2 separate regions of the Homo sapiens genome follow, and region 1 is linked to region 2. The links are contacts of gene promoters, found by promoter capture Hi-C in human tissues and cell types (Jung and others, 2019). All regions are on one chromosome and are shown on one strand. The core of a region is centred on a gene start or on the middle of the fragment in contact, and the rest is flanking DNA. Distances in the headings are between cores, read along the strand shown.

What was found. Contacts are between HindIII fragments. The study calls those that stand out against the background at their distance.
Region 1: a fragment that was not itself captured here is called in contact with the fragment with the promoter of KCNE4 in region 2 in 1 of the 25 tissues and cell types used here (IMR-90 fibroblasts).

What each region holds. Positions count from the first base shown.
Region 1 is chr2:223,455,859-223,462,688 of GRCh38, forward strand. No RefSeq gene overlaps it. Among named protein-coding and RNA genes, the nearest start is that of SCG2, 140 kb to the right of the region's middle. The HindIII fragment of the contact is 5,697 bases long and covers 61-5,757 here.
Region 2 is chr2:223,048,939-223,056,345 of GRCh38, forward strand. It overlaps KCNE4 (potassium voltage-gated channel subfamily E regulatory subunit 4), which reads left to right and starts at 3,252. Exons shown (of 2, transcript NM_080671.4): 1 at 3,252-3,336; 2 at 3,870-6,699. The coding sequence starts at 3,893. The coding sequence ends at 4,405. RefSeq lists an enhancer at 3,560-4,107. The HindIII fragment of the contact is 5,924 bases long and covers 1-4,337 here.

The DNA of each region.
Region 1 (6,830 bases), core at 1,659-4,158, 410 kb after region 2:
CCTGTTTCTAAAAACAAAACAAAACAAAACAAAAAACAAACCAAAAAAAAAACCCACTGTGGATATTGTACTCTTTGACTCAGAAATTTCCATTTATCTTTAGGTATACCCAAAAACTTCATTCACAAAACATATTTACAGGCATGTTCAATACAGGATTATTTCTAGTAGTAGAATGTTTATCAACATGAGACTAGGAAACTAGAGTGTAACCAAATGGAGGAATAATATGGAACTGTGAAAAAACAGGTATATTTGTAGGTAGTGATGTGGAAATATACTTAAGACCAAGCAGAAAGATTAAGGTGCAAAATTCCTTATATAATTTGATACCTTTTATATAATTTATAAAAAGGCAACATAATATATAGATTTATACATGCTTAAAGATACATATGATTGTCTACTTTTCCTGAAATTAATCATTAGACATTTTAATGGGAATTACTTTAGAGGAGTAAGACTGAAGGTGGAGAGAAAGGAGGCTTTCTATCTTTGTTTCGTGCCTTCCCATACTGTTTGAATTTCTGACCATGTGCATACATTGTATGCAATTATTTTTAATAGCAAAGGTGGTTACAGTGAGCTAATGAGCCATTTGTGTTTATTTCCTTTCAGATACTTTTTGTGTTTGAAAAAAAATTAGGAATATCATTTTAACACAGTTTTCAATTAAAAGATTTATCTTGTGTTTTTCAAAAGAATATTTAAAATGTTTCATTTGCTACTTTCAAATTGATGGCGTGGTATTCACTACCAATATCAATGGGCTGTATTATTTTTGGACACTAGAGGGAATTTAGAAATGAGAGAAAATACACTGAAGAACCAATATGGCTCCCAAAGCTCTCTGACTGGATTTCCTTACTCCCACTGAGAACCTCTTTAGAACAAAAGCATTACTTAAACCGTGGTTGACTTGTAGATATATTCCTAAGAGCTTGTATGTAATTGAATCATATCATAAGTTCTGGGGAGATTGCTGTTGAGAGGAATCCTAGTGTGGATTGTCTAGAAAATAATGAAGCTTTTGTAAGACAGGTAATCACTGCTAGTTTATCATTAGATGACAAGATTCTAGTGTTTTATAATCCTCTTTTCCAGAAGATACTGTAAATCTGAGGTGTGATTATGATTATATTGGTACAATCAGTTTTGTGTGCCTTGAAGAATGTAGGTACTCAATGAATGTTTAATCAACTAATTAAAGAAATAAACAGGCTAAAGAAACAAACAGTTATTGTATCTGGGATGTTTTCCCCCTTATTATCCTAATTTAAATGACTGACTGAATTCTATTCGGTAACCCTCCTTCTGCATGTATTCATCCATTTCTTCATGTGCTCACTGTAACCCAGGCAGAGTAACAGTCATTGGTGATAAAGATTCTGATCTCAAAAACTTTTCAATTTAGTGAGAAGACAGACAAGAATAAACAAATCGAAAGAACAAATTGATGGAGAAGATATGAGAAATAGGTGAGTGTGATAGACAAAAATAAAACATCGTGGGATAAACATTGCTAATAAACATCTGGATTTCCTGTACTTCTGAGTATATGTGGGTTGTACTTCTCCACCCTCTTGGTCATTCATCACTATTTGACTAGTTCTAGCCAGTAACATGTGAGTAGAACGGCAATGCAACTGCCAAGCTAAAGTATTGGATGGCTGGTGTTCAGCTCTCCAGCTCTTTCTTCCTTTGATGTGGCAATCAGGAAAGCATATGTTGACTTGAAGGTGTCATGAGATGAAGAAAACTGAAGTGCTGAGCCACCACATGGAAGGTGCCTTAGCTAAAGTGTTGCCATACTTGGAAAATTAATGTGAGTAAAAAAATAACTTTCATTATTTAAAGCCAATAAAAATTTGGAGCATAGCCAAGCCTATCCTGACTGATACACAAGATTAGGCAATGGAGAGTAATGGGGCAGTGCTCCTCATGTAGGATGGCCAAGGAAGGGTCCTCTTACAAAGTGGCAATAGCAGTACAGTTATTGTTATTTGGATGTGAATTTCAGAGTCAAGAAGGGGTAGCCGTGGAGAGGAATGGTTCTGGGATATTGCTGGTGGGCCCCTGCTTGAGTCATGGGAGGACACTTGTCAAAAGTATCGATACCTTGGCCTCACCCTAGACCTGCTGCGTTAGACCCTCTGGAGGCAGCTTTAGGATTCTGTGATTTTAATGAGCTCCCCAGGTTATTCTGATGCACAGCCAGCTCTTGCAACCACTGCATTCAGCTTCAAGCCCTGATGGTTTACCTTTCTGATATATATGGTATGATATATAGAAATTTCAAATTATATGCCTCTCAGTCTTTTCCTTACTCTGACAGGAAAAAAAAGGAAAACCACATTTCAATTCTCATCAAAAGGACTTTATCTTTTTCCCATAATTCTGACAGAATATGATTCCTTATATGTCTGTCTTAGTTTGATGGAATCGACTTTAAGTCTTCAAGTCATAATAATATGAAAGACAGGTGTTTTTTATTTGTTTGTCTTATTTTGACAGGATCAAACTGTAACTTCAAGAATATTATTTTGAGAAAGAAACATCGTGGTAGCCAGAATGTTTTTGCTGTTAGAATTTTTAAAAAATGAAGATCATTTATTGAATGCTTCATGTATGCACAATCATGCTGCAAAGTAATATATACTCCTCATTGAAATTTAATTTTCACAAAAATATTGGTGCCTTAAAATTTTTACTCTTTCCTTTCAATGATAGCCTAAAAACTTTTATTTTAATAACTACATTAATGAATAAATTAAAAAATTTAACCCAAGAAGCTGTAAAGAAGAATAGATTCTTGAGTAATTGTGAATTCATAGTCTTCATTCTAGTTATTTTATATATGTGAAAACTGAGTGATAAAACCTGCATTCAAGGCTTTAAATTTAGAACTAAAAAGGAAAGCTGCTGCCCAGAGGAAGGACTTACTATAGATAATTACTTTATAAGGTAGCCTCTATTCGATGTTCCAATTTCATATTTTTTAAAGCCAAATATAAAGTATGTATCACATCTAAGCCTCTTTGCAATTCTGTATAAAAATACTTTTTTAATTAAAATGCGGAGAGATGGTATACAAAGCAGACTGATCACATTTGTTTTTCTCTACTCCATTCCAGAACCTCCTTCTATAACAGCAAAACTATATAATGTATACAATTTTACGCCTTTATACAAAGTCAAGAGAACAGGGTAAAATCCTGCTTGCTGCACATAACGGAAGAAAAGTTAATACCAACGAATCCCTCCTCCAACTACCACAAAGACAAGAAGGATATGCCAATTCACCATAAACTACAATGATGGTGGAGAATAGGTCAGTTTCTCAGCATTGCAGCTTCAGCCCACAAGATTCCTGTATTTCCCCATATGGGACACTCAATGAGAGAGTGAGTGAATGAGAGAGAGGCACTAGATGACAAAACATTTACCCCTGGATTTTTGAGTCACCTTTTTACTTCAAATCCCAGATGACTCTAGCCAAATAAAAGGATAAATATTCTGTGTTGACCTATTTCCCTCAACCAGAGCCTGGGAAAGAATCTAAAATGGTAATTTGGAGGATGCCTCTTGCTGACAACCGAATGATCCTTTAAATTCAATCAGGTCTTTTAGTTATTAAACAATAACATTTGTTTATTATTATTGTTAAATTCACCACCAGAGGGAGCTCATCTTTTCCTGTCATCTAGAGACCAATAGACTACAAAGTAACGACTGTTCTCCTAATTTCAGTATTAAAATATATAATTTTTGCCTGGGATAAATGTTGGAATGTGTGTTTACATTGAGCTATTCTAGTTGTCTCAGAAAGCAGCAGAGAAACTTCAATCAACCACAAATTTGTTCTCCAATTTATTACCTCCTCACAACTTTCCCCAATGAAAAGAGAAAAATAAATCTACCTAGAGAATTACATTTTCCTCATGTACGCCTCTGGAATTTACCACACTTTTCTAATGAAGCATCACTTCAGAATTTTCTAGGCTCTCTGAGTCAAAGCACAGCAGAAGGATCTTTGGAGAAAAACGATTGGCTGCTTGATGTTTGCTAAGTCATTTGAAAGTCTAAGATATCTCAAATGGAAATCTCCATCTGTGGTGACATAAAATACATCTATATTTAATGTTAATAGTCACTAATATTAAGTGTAAATAAGCAGAGAGAAAGATCGTAGGACCCTTATTCACCAAATGGATGTAATCCATAACTAATTTTAAAAAATGAAGTCAATCTTTTGGTAGGGAAGTGAATGATCTCTGAAGGTAAACTAAAATCAAGTCCTAGAAGATGATATTTTAGTTTTCTTTTAGCATCTGCTTGTCAAAAGCAAGAATTTGATTTATTTAAGTCCTTTTTACTGCTAGTAGCAAATATATGCTTTTTAGGAAGCAGGACCATTTTTATATTTTTGAAACTCAGTGAGTCTGCTATACCTGTAAATATTTGAATACTATAAATGACTAGTGCTGAGGAGAAGGATATAGTGTTTCATTAAGTATTTGCTCCATTTTTAAAGAGCCCGTGACCATGGCAACCAGGTGCTGCCAACTGACCCCAATGGCAGCCACACTTGCTGCTTTATCTCAATTGCTACTGGGAGCACACAAGCTTTATAGATTTATTGAATCACATTAGATTATAGGCAATTTTTAAGTGGTTCAAAAGGAGAGGAATAGCTTGTTTTTAATCTAAAGAAGTAGAATTGTTATGCATGCATTATTTCCTGCAGGTAATATTCATACACAATTTAAGGATTTTAAGAAACAAACGAAAGAGATTTGTGGACGAATACGGCAGACAGATCATATGTGCTTATTCTTTGCTCCACCCCAGCACCTCTTTCAATACCAGTTAAAGGACATAAGGTAATAATTTTATGCCTGTCTACAAAGACAAGAGTGCAGGAGAAGAGAAGAGGGAAGGCCAGATTGTCAACAGAATTTTGGAAGTTGGAAAATAGATGGATGAGTCATAACTCATTTACAGAGCAGAAATGTTGAAACCAAACTGTCTGTTGGGGGTGGAGGAAATGACAATAACAAGCAAGCTGATTCATGCCATAGACCCTCAAAGGCACAGTGATAAGAGGGGTTAGAATCTTCTGAATAAGCCTAGGATGTGGAGCTGGGAACACAAGACCTAGTTGATTGAGCACTCACACCCCTAAATTTGCACCCCCAGACACTGAGTAAGGTAACTTTCCTGGAGAGGCAAGCTGAGGGAGCAGTGTATCATAGGGCTGAAAACAAGGGTAATGAGTGGAAATCTGGATACCAAAGAGCCAGGCAGTCAGCTTCCTGCCCCACCCAGCTCTCAAGCCCTGGACTGGATATTGGCTGATTCTTCTTGAGATATAGGCAAGACACTGCTTTCTTATTAATCTCATACTAGTATTAGACTTTTAAACTATATATACATATTTATCACTAAAAAATAATAATAAATTATTAATAGCAGGAAAAAACTGATTTGAATCAGTGCCCCAAGCCATAGAGATTACATATGTGGTATATAGTGAAAAATTTTAACGTGCATGTCGCTACTCAGTTATGCCAAGTGACAGCTTGTTGTTGGACTTATTCTGTTGCCTTGGAATTGGACATAGAGAGCCAAAGTGAGGCTTGAAATACTGAAAGTAACTGCATCCTAAAAAGAGCTGCAAAAAATGAAGATGAGACAACCTCTCCAGAGCTTATAAAGATGTAAACAGATACTGCTACCCCCAGCCACTATGTCCAATACCTATCTTCTTCCTCTCCAATCTCTTGATATGGTTTGGATCTATGTCCCTACCAAATCTCATGTTGACCTGTAATCCCCAGTCTTTGAGGTGGGGCCTAGTGGGAGGTGATTAGATCATGGGGGTGGACTTCTCATGAATGGTTTAGTACCATGCCTCCTTGGTAATGTATAGTGAGTGAGTTCTCACCAGATCTGGTTGTTTAAAAGTGTGTGACACCTCCTTCCACCATCTCTCTCTTCCTCCTTTCCAGCCATGTGAAGCGCTGGCTCCCTCTTTGCCTTCTGCCATGATTGCAAGTTTCCCGAAGCCTCCTCGGTAGCCAAGCAGATGCCAGCATCATGCTTCCTGTACATTCGGTGGAACTGTGAGCCAATTAAAGCTCTTTTTTAAATAAATTATCCAGTCTCAGGTATTTATGTATAGCAATGCAAGAACAAACTAATATGGAAAATTGGTACTGAGGAGTGGGGCATTATTATAATGATACCTGAAAATGTGGAAGCAGCTTTGAAACTGGATAATGGGCAGGCAGAGGTTGGAACGGTTTGGAGGGCTCAGAAGAAGACAGGAAGTTGAGGAAAAGTTTAGAACTTCCAAAAGACTTGTTGAATGGTTGTAACTAAAATGTTGATAGTGATATGGAGAGTGAAGTTGAGGCTGAGGAGGTCTCAGATGGAAATGAGGAACTTATTGGGAACTGGAGTAAAGGTCACTTTTGCTATGCTTTAGCAAAGAGTCTAGTTGCTGTCAGGCCTCTGAGCCCAAGCTAAGCCATCATAACCCCTGTGACCTGCACGTATACATCCAGATGGCCTGAAACAACTGAAGAACCACAAAAGAAGTGAAACAGCCAGTTCCTGCCTTAACTGATGACATTCCACCATTGTGATTTGTTCCTGCCCCACCCTAACTGATCAATGGACCTTGTGACATTCCTTCTCCTGGACAATGAGTCTCAGGAGCTCCCCACCAAGCACCTTGTGACCCCCGCCCCTGCCCGCAAGAGAAAACCACCTTTAACTGTAATTTTCCACTACCTACCCAAATCCTATAAAACTGGCCCACCCCA
Region 2 (7,407 bases), core at 2,002-4,501:
ATGAAGAGTTAAGAAATAGACCTGCTTATATAAGGTTAATTGATTTTCAACAAAGTTTCCAAGATAATTTTAAATAGGAAAAGGAGTCTTTTCAACAAATGATGCTGGAGCAATTGGACATCCATAAGCAAAACAAAAACAAACAACCCCTCCCCAAAATCCTTGACCTATATCTTACATTTTAGACTAAAATTAACTTGAAATGTATCATAGACCTAAATGTAAGGCTGAAACCATAAAACTTCTAGAAGCAAAACAGGAGAAAATCCTCATGACTGGGTTAAGCAAATATTTCTTTGATAGGATTCAAACAGCACAACCAAAAACATTTAAAATAAATTGGACTTCATCAGAATTAGATATGTTTGCTCCTGAAAAGACACTGTTCAGGAAATGGAAATGCTAGCCGAAATTGATTTATTTCTTTAACATTGCTGTCTCCTAAAACTGAGGCCCGGGGTAGATATAATTAATAATTCTTGTGCAGTCCCATCCTCTCCCGACAGAGTGCACTTTCTAGATGTACCCTCTCTCCCTCATTCTTTATGCCATTATTCAGTGCCATCATTCTCGCAATCCCTGTCATGAGTGAGGGCTGGGAAGAAGATTGAGCTATGCATTTTGAAGTTGGAATTCCCTTCTCTTAAATTCCATTCCTGGGAGTGACAGACAGGGGAAGGAGCAGTGATAAAAAGTCTGGAGTTAAAAGTCTGGAGATGGGCACACACATGACAGGAGGCAACCTGAAGCCCTTGGGAGCAACAGCGTACTCCTAACAATGACAACTAAACACAGGCACTGAGCATGTGCATTTGGCCAGACATGGTGCTTTCTTTGCATCATTTCATTGAACTATTTTATTCTGTTCTGTTCTATTCTATTCTATTCTATTCTATTCTATTCTATTTATTTAGAGATCTCGCTCTGTCACCCAGGCTGGAGTGTAGTGGCATGTTCAGACCTCATTGCAGCCTTGAACTCCTGGTCTCGAGTGATCCTCCCACCCCAGCCTCCCAAGTAGCTGGGACTACAGGCACTCGCCACCAGGCCTAGTTAATTTTTGTATTTTTTTGTAGAGATGGGGTCTCACTGTGTTGCCCACGCTGGTCTCAAACACCTGGGTTCAAGTGATTCATCCACCTCAGCCTCTTCAAGCATTGGGATTACTGAACTAAGACACTGCAGTTGGCCTCGTTTAACTCTAGTAGAAATATCCATGCAGGAAGTATGTGGGAATCGGGGCAGCAGGGACTCCAAGCAGGCACCCCAGAATTTCTTCTGGGCTGTTCCTTCCCTGACTCCTGCAATTAGTCCTGCTTTTCCTTTGGCTCTGACTTGCTTCGTCCTTTGGAATTCATTCTCGATGTTTCCCCACACTCATCTCTTTTCTTGGTTGTATTCCCTTGGGACTGTTGGCTCAGGTTTGGGGATTTATTATGTTTAAAACTTCAGCCTCTGTTTGGCTTCCTGGCACCAGGCTTTGTACTTCCTGCTCCTTGAATCTGGTAACTCCTATCCCCACCTCCTTTCTGCCTACTCAAAGCTTCCAGTCTTTGGTGTTGGACAATCCCTGGATGATGACCAATCTCGTATGTCCTAAGGTATACAATAAAAAATACCAGGGTCAACAATCAACAGGCATCTCTTTCTTGGGCCCATCTTGTTCTAGTGTCCCAGACATTCCAGTGTAGGCTTAGATATAGATGGAAGTGTTCTAGTGTTTATGATGGACACCTGTTGAAAAGACCAAGTCTACCATGGCTGAGGTAGCTATGGAGGGTTTTACGTATTAACACAATGGTGAGGGTATCTTTACTGGTGTGAGCACAGTTCCACTGTATGGATGATCGTGATGCTGGAGTGGTCGATGGTTGGTACCTCCAGTGCCAGCTGGGGATTTATGGATGAACACAGGTGAGTAGTCAAGTGGGAAAAATGGCAGCATTCAGTTCATCTTCCTATTCTTCCTCCAGGTGTCTTCTTAGAATCAGGATCAGGTGCAAACCCAGGGGGGTTCCTGTAGCAGCAGTGAAAATTCCAGTGCCTAAGCTATATATGTTCAAGCAGGTCAGGTGGATGTCGCATGCGTCAGTTTGACTACAGCAGAACCATGAGAGATGTTTCCTTTAGAGTTGGCCCACAAGACAGTCTGGCTGCAATCCACAGGCCACAGACAACTGGAGGGAGTGGATCTCTCCCAGTTTCCTTCCACTTAGCATGAAAGCCTCAGAATAAGCAGCCCAGGGAGCAGAGAGACTGACATTAAAGCCTGCAATTCCTCTTCCAATTTTGATCACAGCAGCCATTTAAACACAGGGTCTACCGAGGTTTAAAAAACTTGAACTGTGCTTAGTTGCACTCTGAAATAGTCCTGCTCCTCCCCTGACCTACGAGAGACAGCAAAGAGACGTGTCAATAGCCTCCGCATGAGGCTTCAGAGGAGCAGCTGTGTATGGCAGGACGGAACAAAACCTGCCCATAGTATCTTTTACGACAACATGTTTCCACTTAATGCAGACCACTGAAAAGAATGTGGGAGCTTTTAAAAAAAAATTATTATAAACATAGGTTTGTGACCTTGATGTGGAAGGCAGCTAGAATCTCTGCTTTTAGAGGGCTAAGCAACACCAGGCAGCCTTCAATCTTAGAAGGGTTAAGCTGAAAGGGTCTCAAAAGGTCACGTGGTTTATATAATCCTACCTGCAGAAGACCCCCCCCCCCGCCAGGCACAACGATTTTACAGACGAGGAATGTGAGGTGCGGAGAGGTTAAGGAAGGATTTATCTTATTTGCATAAGGAGTGGAAGAACTGAAACCGAAGCCCCAGTTCCTTGACTGTAAATCCCGCACTTGCTTCCAACTGTCTTTCATCCAGATTATGGGATTCAGCTGCCTCTGAAAACCTGTAGCCCAATAATGGTTATTCCCCAGGAGCCGCGCGAAGCATGAGCTAATTTTCAGTGAGCGCGGACTTTGGGGTAACGGTTCCAGCACAGCACATCCCTTTCTCCTCTTTTCACTCATCGTCACCGCTACCTGAAAACCCTGGCCGGGTGCTGGGGCTTGAGGAGCAGTTCCCACTTCCCAGTCTTTTTCACTTTTCACAGCTGCAAAGTTCAGGGAGTTGAACTGCAGTGCTTTCAGTTCACTGCTCACTCTGCCACGATCAATCTCTGTTGTAAATTTTCCTCCCAGAGCACGTGACGATGCACTTCTTGACTATATATCCCAACTGCAGCAGCGGAGTTGTCAGAGCGCAGAGCCGGACAGAGCAGAAGAACCCTCTTGGACTGGACGATTTGGGAATTCAAAACTTGGGACAAACTGTCAGCCTTGGTAAGTCAGCAAGGCTACACTTTGCTTTCAGAAACATTTGAAAGAGGGACATTTTTGCCAATTAATAGATGAATTTTTTTCCTTTATTTTCTTCCTGCTTTTCTTTGTTCTAAGGAAACATTGTTTTGAATTTAAAATAGTTTGGTTTTGGAAACACAATGTAAACTTTGTTTCTGCTCAGTTAAAATACGTTTCCCAGTTTTAAAGATACTATTTACTGTATGCTCCTGTCTTACATTGATTTTTTTTTTAATCAAAGTAATACTGCTCACTACAAACAGGACAAATGTGTACACTAAAAAAAAAAAAAAAAGTCCTTCTTACTTTTCCCAGTGAACCTTCCCGGGCTTCTCTCCCGTGCACTCCAAGCCCTCATAGCTCACTCTTGTCAGCTGTTTGGCGAACCCTCTTATGCTATTTCTTTCATGCACTTTTAAGCTTTTTTGGTATTGCAGTTCCACAAACCTCGTGCTCCCCCACCTCCCTGTGCCCAGGACCTGGGGGAGAGTTCTAACCTGCGGCTTTTTCCCCAGCCCCTGCTGTGGAGGCAGCCTCAATGCTGAAAATGGAGCCTCTGAACAGCACGCACCCCGGCACCGCCGCCTCCAGCAGCCCCCTGGAGTCCCGTGCGGCCGGCGGCGGCAGCGGCAATGGCAACGAGTACTTCTACATTCTGGTTGTCATGTCCTTCTACGGCATTTTCTTGATCGGAATCATGCTGGGCTACATGAAATCCAAGAGGCGGGAGAAGAAGTCCAGCCTCCTGCTGCTGTACAAAGACGAGGAGCGGCTCTGGGGGGAGGCCATGAAGCCGCTGCCTGTGGTGTCGGGCCTGAGGTCGGTGCAGGTGCCCCTGATGCTGAACATGCTGCAGGAGAGCGTGGCGCCCGCGCTGTCCTGCACCCTCTGTTCCATGGAAGGGGACAGCGTGAGCTCCGAGTCCTCCTCCCCGGACGTGCACCTCACCATTCAGGAGGAGGGGGCAGACGATGAGCTGGAGGAGACCTCGGAGACGCCCCTCAACGAGAGCAGCGAAGGGTCCTCGGAGAACATCCATCAGAATTCCTAGCACCCCCGGGACCCCTGCCGGTGGCTCCATCAGCCAGCAACCTTAGAGAGAGGAAAGACAGTTTTCAAGTGTCTGGTTTCACTTTCACAGTGCGGCTGCCACTTTGAAGAGACCCTTGGTAAACCCCTGATTCGGGGTGGGGTGGGGGACTAGGCTCAGCCGGAACCAGCACCTCCAAGGAGTCCGGGAGGTGCCTGTGGTTTGCACCCACCACTGAAAAAGCCGCGGAGATGCGCAGCGCGTACACTGACTTTGGGGCCTGGGTGTTGGGGTTCTGATCAGAATTTGGCGGGATGATATGTTTGCCATTTTCTCACTGGATGCCCTGGGTAGCTCCTGCAGGGTCTGCCTGTTCCCAGGGCTGCCGAATGCTTAGGACACGCTGAGAGACTAGTTGTGATTTGCTATTTTGCCTAGAGCTTTGTCCTTCTAGATCTGATTGGCTGTAAGTATCTCTACTGTGTACCTGTGGCATTCCTTCACAGTGGGTTACAAGCTTCTTTTGGATTAGAGGGGGATTTTTGATGGGAGAAAGCTGGAGATCTGAACCCAGCCCATTTGCACACTATAAGAAAAAAAAGTAACTTTTAAACCTGTTAACATTGGCCGGGGTTATAAGAGATGATCTTCTATTTTGACCTTTTGTCTAACTTATGACCTTGAACTCTGACCTGTGACCATGCAGCATCACATGATGGCATGACGTTCTTTGGATCAGAAGAGCTTCCCCAGAATCTAACCTGCACTCCCGATGGTGGTTCAGGAGACTCTTCCTGATCTTTCTAGAAGGGGTAAAGTGGGGTTGAACAAGGCCAAGCCGTTAGCTCTGCTGCTGCTCAGTTTCCCAGCCTAGTTTTCTGAGCTGGGAGAGGACATAATGTGGTATTTCGTCACGTAGCTGAGACCTAGAAGGGCATACTCAGGCGGAGATTGCACAAAGCTGGGCTCCAAGTTCTGTGCTTCCTGATCCCGAGCCCTGACACTCATTTGCTGTGTGGTCCCGGGCATGTCATCAAGAAGCTCGCTGTCTGCATGAGGCTCCCGACGATCTCCATCCCCAGGGGGTTGGGAGGATGTCTTTAGATTTTAGGACTCTGTGATAAATATTCCACAGCCTGGTGTGAGGAAGCTTGGACCAAATGCTTCCCCTTTGGCCGGTTAGTCTGAACAAGGATCTGCTGATTTAAAGGAGCAGTTGGAGATTCAGAACACATATAACTGGGGAATTCAGGGCAAGCTACCAACCCAGCCCTGCTGTAGTTTTCCCAGGACTGAAGGAAAGAGGCAGACACCACATTCTCCTCTGCAAAGTTCTCTGGAGAATGTGTGATGTTAACACTCCCAGCTAAGGGAAAGCAAAGTCTAAAGGAAAACACACAGGAATGCTTCCAATGTCTCCAAGTATTCCTGTGGTCAACAGTTTCGCAGATCCGTTAGGCCCTTAAAGACAAGGAGGAAGTAAAAGGTCAAATTTAAATCTATTTAAAAAAACTTTTAAAAAAATTATTTATTTATTATTATTTTTTATTTTTAAGACAGAATCTCGCTCTGTTGCCCAGGCTGGAGTGCAGTGGTGCAATCTTGGCTCACTGCAACCTCCACCTCCTGGGTTTCAGCGATTCTCCTGCCTCAGCCTCCTGAGTAGCTGGGATTACAGGCGCCTGCCACCACGCCCAGCTAATTTTTTGATTTTTAGTAGAGATGGGGTTTCGCCATTTTGGCCAGGCTGGTCTCAAACTCCTGGCCTTAAATGATCCTCCCACCTCGGCCTCCCAAAGTGCTGGGATTACAGGCATGAGCCACTGCACCCGGCCACTTTTTTTTTTTTTAAAGAAAAATGCTCTGCATGGATTGGAGACACAGCAATAACTACTGTTGCCATGGAAGGGTTAACAGTGTAGGAGCTGGTTTATCAGTCCGCTTTGACATACAGCTAAAGGAAATTTATGTTTGGGGGAAAAAGGCCCTCTGTTCACTTTAAAATTCAGTGTGGACTTATGCCAAAGGGGGCTGTTTAAGTTGAAAGAAGCCAAGTTAAGTTTGGCCTCTTGCCTGGAATCACTTGAATTCTGAAATTTCACTGCGACGGACATGTGCCTTGTCACATTTTCCATTGCTTAATCCTGAAGTTTGGTGCAAGTCTCTCTGCACCTATTAAAAAGTGATGTATATACTTCCTTCTTATTCTGTTGAGTTGTATAGAATTGTCTTTTGTATTTAACACTTTGTAATTTTCACAATATTTTTTAATTTAAATAAATAAACACATTTTTTCCCTCCTGGGAAGTCATGAATTCTTTGTTTGATTTTTCAATATAATTGTTAGTTTCGAAGACATCACAGATACGTTTCCCAAGACATCTCTGGATTTTGCTCCTCTCCCAAGTCAGTATCTCCTGAGGGCGTATCTTATTTCTGTCTGAACCATGGGGTGAATGAGGCTTGGCTTTTCATCCTTTGAAATGCTTTGTAATGAATGGAAAACAAGCTGCAGATGGTCTTACATGGACTTCTCTGTTTAAATATGGCAGCCCTGGAGTCTTTGGACTTTGAACATGCAGTGACAGGTCAACTGCTGCTAAGATGTTGCTCCAAGCTTGGTTGCAAGAAAACGTTTGACCTGTATGTTGGCTTGGCAAATATTATCCACACATGTGGCCCAGCAGCACCTGCTAATGGGCAAAGAGCTGCTGTATGAACAGCAACACAAACTTACCAACACAGTGAAGCACGACGTGTGGGGCTGGGGTTGACTCTCCTCCCTCTCCTGGTCTCCTTCAGACTGGGACTGATTCCAGCCCCTCCCACTTGGTCTGTCTGTATCTCTTGCCCACAGGCTGAGGCCGTGGCCAGCCTGCGGCAGCCTCTTCTTCATAATTTTATTTGCATGACCTGTTTTTGAATCAAGCAAATGGTAGGAAGCATCCTTACTTTTATGTTTCTCTGTTTCCTGTGAGATTGGCTTTTCTGTTTCAAGTAAGTGTTTCCCTTCAGTTCACTAG